Linked DNA regions of Homo sapiens: region 1 is linked to region 2. The links are contacts of gene promoters, found by promoter capture Hi-C in human tissues and cell types (Jung and others, 2019). All regions are on one chromosome and are shown on one strand. Each heading gives the region's core, a stretch centred on a gene start or on the middle of the fragment in contact. The rest is flanking DNA. Distances are from core to core; before and after follow the strand shown.

Region 1 (2,772 bases), core at 13-2,512, 85 kb before region 2:
GATAGAGAGAACTCGTGCTAATGAGTGCTGTCTCCGGGTGAAGGAGCTCTCGGGCAGGACTCAGGACTCTGCACCCTTCCCCCTTGCCTTTTCCCCGAATGCTGAACACCTTTTTAGCTTTTCTGTCTTTCTAAAATTCTAGCTGCCTTCTTAAAATTATGCATTTCTATATTCACTGTAGGGATCTTAGGAACTACAAAGAATGAAGTAAAGACCCAAATAGTACAAATCTCCATAATCCCAGCCTGGAGGCAGCCACTGTGGGCAGGCTGGTGGCTCCTTTCAGTAGGGTTCTGGCTTCTGGACACCCGTCCGTGTGTGACTCATGCATGGACGTGTTTTTAAATTACTGAGAGAATGGGATCGTCATCAGTACACACACCCCAGTAGGTTCTTTTGAACAAGTTATTTCCTTCTCTGCGACTTGGTCCCCGTGTCTCCAAGGTCCCTTTTGGACCTGAAACAGTCATTCTCTGCTTCTGAGAGGGCGTGCTGATCAAAGGATCTGCAGCTTCTCTGCAGAACAGCAGCCCATGTGTGCCCCACGAGCATTCTGAGACACGGTGGAGTGCCTGGCTCTGAGAGAGCTGCTCCCCTCGCTTCACTGACCTGTTGTTCTCAGCCTCTGGGAGCATCCCGAGTCACGTGTGGGGATTTTTCAGAGAGGAGCCTGGCTGACCTAAGGCTCAGACTCACGTCCCAGCTGGCGCCGGCCTGTGAGCCCCACAGGGGTTCTGCAGGCGGGAGGCAGGGGGCCACCAGCTTCCACCTTTCGGGACCTAGGATGCCACCAGCTGCTGCTGCTTTTATTTCTGTGAAACATGGAAGCTTCTCTCCTGTTACACACTCCGTCAGCAAACAACACGCACAGAGTCTTCTCTGCCTCTTCCTGTTTACTGTCAAATCAGAGGAAGGACTAAACCCTGTAGACTCGGACCTGGATTGCTTTTGAATTTCCACATGCAGTGGCTTATCGATGTTAAGAATGAACTCTGTACTTTTCTAATTTTCTTCAGTAAGCCTGTGTTACTTTTATAACCCAAGGTGGGTCGAGGGAGCATTTAAACTGGGACAGAGGGAGCGTAGACCCCAGAGGGACATTCCGAGAAGGGGAAGGACAGGCAGCCCTGCATGGCCACAGAAGCCAACACAGATGCTACTGCACCAGCAGCCACCACGGTGGACCGCGGGCGCACCGGCTCCACACACACCCCTGAGCTGGCATTCACCTTCATAGGACCTGGCATAAAGGACACGGTGGTGGTGGGGTGGGGCACTGCCTAACTTGTGACAATGACGTGACCAGGTGTGTGCTGGCCTCTGGTCCTCGGGCTCTGCTGGAACCTTGTGTGCAGTGATGAATTAACAGCATTCACACAAACGCGAACCTGGGTGCGGTTGGCGGCCGTGTTCCTGGTCACCATGTAGAGCCAGGCTGCACAGCCAGCAGAGGCCGGCGTGGTGCTGGTTTATGCGTCACACTGTTCCCTGCGGTGGAGGCAGTCTGGCTTCATGAAGACTGGGAAAGCATCGTGTGATTCGCCAAATGGAGGGCTCCCTGCTCTGTCAATGCATGTTTCCTTAATTCCCGTATTTTAATAGACAAGTGTCACCAGATTGGCGTTCCTCCGAATTTCATGCTGGCTTTACGTTTCTTATGTGCTTTAATTTCTCTTTTATTTCAGAACTCAAAGCATTAACAATGTTTTACATTATTTCTGTTGAGTTTTTCCCCATTAATTTTGCATGGTGGCGTTTGTGTCTTGCACACACTCATGCATCTGTTCTTTTCTCTCTCATTTCTCACCTTCCCGCATGCGTCCACTCCTCATAGTTGTTGTTCCAGAGAGCAGGCGTGTATGACGCAGTCGTAAGTACAGACGCCCAGGTCGTGTGTCATTTGCTTCACCGGGTTGTTTTCCTGAGATCCTTTTCCTCCCTTATTTTCAGTACAATTGTCTGTGCACCGATACTTTCTGCTTACCTTGCATGTTCGCTTTACCGAGGTCTATTGGAAGCCTGAGACACTCAGTGTCAGCTCTCTTTATTTGAGCAGGATGCCTCTCACCTAGCAAAGCTCATCAGGAGCCAGCTGTGGTCATGGCTGGGACATGTGACACAGCAGCTCTTTCCTCTGCTGTGTGGGACACAGGAAGTACTTAGTTTACCTACATTTGCAATAGAGGGAGTTTTCGTAACTCAGCCATTCAAGTCTAGTGAGGACTAGCCATGACGTCTTTTGTCTGTTAACGCTGCCCTTGTTCACATTTTCAAACGGCTCGGCCTAGTTTCTCCGAGGTATGAGGGTGGATCCGGGTCCAGCAGCTCTTAGGACCCTGCCTCTGCACCGTGTGACTGGTCAGCTGTGACGTGGGATAGACAGTCCCTCCCTCACAGAGCTGTGAGCAGGACATGGTGAATGATGAGAATTCCCATTCACACAGCGAACTGGGTACCCATTCTGTCCACACCAAGCTGACATTGTTATCAGAGGTCAGGGCGCTTCCTTGCAGTTTATTAAACCAGAGCAGGCAGGAATTCCCTGTTGTTTTTGTGCGTGTACGTTTTCTGACAGTTTCCACTCAAGGCAGAAGCAGTCCAAACCCTTCAGCACTCAGCACCCTGCAGATGGGCCCCAGTCACATCCGTCCTCAGGCCCTCCACTCCATCGCCTCTCTGCAGGGCCTCGGGGCCTTTGCTTATGCTCTGCACTGTGCCAAGAAGGGCCTCCCCATCACAACTGCGTCTGACAAATCCCCCAGATTTCTTTGA
Region 2 (2,837 bases), core at 195-2,694:
CTTGTCATTGTACTTCAGCCTGGGTGACAAAGTGAGACTGTGTCTCAAAAATAAAAAAATAATAATAATAATTTAAAAAAAGGCCGGGCACCGTGACTCACGCCTGTAATCTCAGCACTTTGGGAGGCCGAGGCGGGTGGATCACGAGGTCAGGAGATCGAGACCATCCTGGCTAACACAGTGAAACCCCATCTGTACTAAAAATACAAAAAATTAGCCGGCCATGGTGACGGGCGCCTGTAGTCCCGGCTACTCGGGAGGCTGAGGCATGAACCCGGGAGGCAGTGAGCCGAGATTGGGCCACTGCACTCCAACCTGGGCGACAGAGTGAGACTCCGTCTCAATAATAAAAATATCGACCTTTTAAAAGGAAGAGGATGAGGCACAAAATATAAAGAGTTTACTCTAGAGGCTAACGTGGAAGGATCACTTGAGGTCAGAAGTTTGAGAACAGCCTGGGCAACACACTGTGAGCTCCACAGCAAAAATTAGCCGGGTGTGGTGGTGCAGGCCTGTGGTCCCTGTTACTCCAGAGGCTGAGGCGGGAGGATGGCTTGAGTCCAGGAGGTCAAGGCTGCACTGAGCTGTGACCGCACCACCGCACTCCAGCCTGGGCGACAGAAGGAGACCCTGTCTCAAAATAAATAAATAAATGACCCAGAAGGTGGGGACAGGGTGGGGGCTGATGTAAAGCTGTCAAGAATTCTCTTTGGTTTATGGAAATACCATTGATTAGTGATGGGCTGTGCCCTGGTGCGGGTACAGGGTCCGGGCGGCTATTTGGCTAATTCACAGCTATCTGCGTAGTAGCCGGCAGTTTCCAGAGGCGACCCTCCTGTACTGTCTCTGGGGCCTGATCGTTGAAGAGGACTCGCCTTCTGTTCTTTTCTCATTAGGCGGGAGGACCCTCTGGGGCTGCCTGGAGGAAGCCTCCACTCCGACCCTCGCCCGAGTGCCTACTGCGAGGGCGGATGCATGCTTCGGGACTTCTAATTTCATCCTTCACGTCTTTAGCCGCCGCCTATGGCAAGGAAAGGCCTGCCCTCGCCCCTGCCTCCCTCCTCCCTTCCCCACCGCGGCTCCGTCACGATCGGCGCGGGCGACCGGGCCTGGGGGAGCCCCTCCAGCCGGCTCCTGCCCTCAGGCCCCGGGCGCTTCCCTCGCCCCGACTCCCGGGCCCGAGGTCCCGGGGGCGGCCATTCGCCTCCCAAGCACTCGGCGCTCAGCCCAACGGGGCCGCCTTTGCAGTCGCGTGGGCAGAACGGGGTCCTCAGGGCCGCGGCGATTCTCTAGGGCGGGCGGCGCCACGACCCGCCGGGAGCGCGGCTCCCAGGAGCCCCCGCGCGACCGGGCCTCGGTGGTTGCCGTTGCAGGTCACATGGTCGCCGTCGCTCATCACGTGGCCCCGTCGCGCGTCACGTGGCCGCCGGCGCGGGTCACGAGAACAAACACGGGGGCAGCCGGCGCTTCCCGGCCGGTGTCGCTCCGCGGCGGGCCATGGCCAACGTCTCTAAGAAGGTGTCCTGGTCCGGCCGGGACCGGGACGACGAGGAGGCGGCGCCGCTGCTGCGGAGGACGGCGCGGCCCGGCGGGGGGACGCCGCTGCTGAACGGGGCTGGGCCTGGGGCTGCGCGCCAGGTGAGGCCGGGCAGGGCGCAGGCGGGGAAACTGAGCCCTCGTGCGCCCCGCAGCCCGCGCCCTCGTGAGCCTTCTGGCGGCGCCGCGTGTCTCGGTCCTGGAGGCGACCGAGGCGCGGTGGACTCGGGAACGCGCCCCGGGGCTCCTCGGCGGGGCCGGGCTGGCGGGGGCGCCTGGGGTCTGGAGTCTTCGGAGGCCGCGCCGGGCTCGGTGGCCGGGAGGGCTGCGTGGGCGAGGCGGAGCTCGCCAGACCCCGCGGAATGTGGGGCGCTGAGGGGCGCCGGGGCAGCCGTGGCGCACGTTCATTCCCTCCGGTGTCCCCCAGACTGGCCCTAAAGGGGTGCAAGTGGCTTTCTGTTCAGGTGACTTTTAAAAATTGTCATCCTACACGAGCAACTAATTTTGTTTGCGTTTTTGACCCCCTGGGAGATGGAAACAGTTAAGATTGCAGCCGGGTCACTGTCTTTCAGTGAGAATGACTGAGCGCCTTTATCTGCCATCTTTCTGTGTGGGGATCAGTCCCGACTTTCAGGTGATCTTGGGAGTGACGAGTATTTGTACTCAGTCTCCCTTCGCACCGAGTTGAATTTGCAATGTGCAGGCAAACACAATAAGCAGCAAGTCAGAGGTTGGAATGCGTTCCGCATGTCACCCTGCAGCGTGCGTCTGAGCAGTGTTAAGGTCTGGAGAACCGTTGCGGGTACATTTGTTTCCCTGTCTGTGTATTGTCTTAATATTTTTTTTTTTTTGAGACGGAGTTTCACTGTAGTTGCCCAGGCTGGAGTGCAATGGCGCGATCTCGGCTCACTGCAACCCCCACCTCCCGAGTTTAAGTGACTCTCCTGCCTCAGCCTCCTGAGTAGCTGGAATTACAGGCGTGCGCCACCGCGCCCGGCTAATTTTGTATTTTTAGTAGAGACGGGGTTCCTCCGTGTTGGTCAGGCTGGCCTCGAACTCCCGACCTCACGTGATCCCCCGCACCTCAGCCTCCCAAAGTGCTGGGATTACAGGCGTGAGCCACTGCGCCTGGCCGTATTGTGTTACTTTTGAGTTAATGGACCGTTTTGTTGATGGGTCTTAATCTGCTTTGCAGTTATTCTTTACATTTTCTCTTGTCTAGTCCTTTAAACACTTGTCTTGTGCTTAAAGATTAGGAAGGACGGCAGGGCACGGTGGCTCACATCTGTAATCCCAGCACT

The links. Contacts are between HindIII fragments. The study calls those that stand out against the background at their distance.
Region 1: a contact is called between a fragment that was not itself captured here and the fragment with the promoter of CLCN7 in region 2, in 3 of the 25 tissues and cell types used here (IMR-90 fibroblasts, aorta and small bowel).

What each region holds. Positions count from the first base shown.
Region 1 is chr16:1,558,991-1,561,762 of GRCh38, reverse strand. The region is part of intron 18 of IFT140 (intraflagellar transport 140); the gene reads left to right. Among named protein-coding and RNA genes, the nearest start is that of TMEM204, 27 kb to the right of the region's middle. RefSeq lists a silencer at 1,925-2,110. The HindIII fragment of the contact is 9,348 bases long and covers 1-2,772 here.
Region 2 is chr16:1,473,635-1,476,471 of GRCh38, reverse strand. CLCN7 (chloride voltage-gated channel 7) reads left to right here and starts at 1,444. Exons shown (of 25, transcript NM_001287.6): 1 at 1,444-1,638. The coding sequence starts at 1,498. RefSeq lists silencers at 1,022-1,371, 1,492-1,701 and an enhancer at 941-1,484. The HindIII fragment of the contact is 17,994 bases long and covers 1-2,837 here.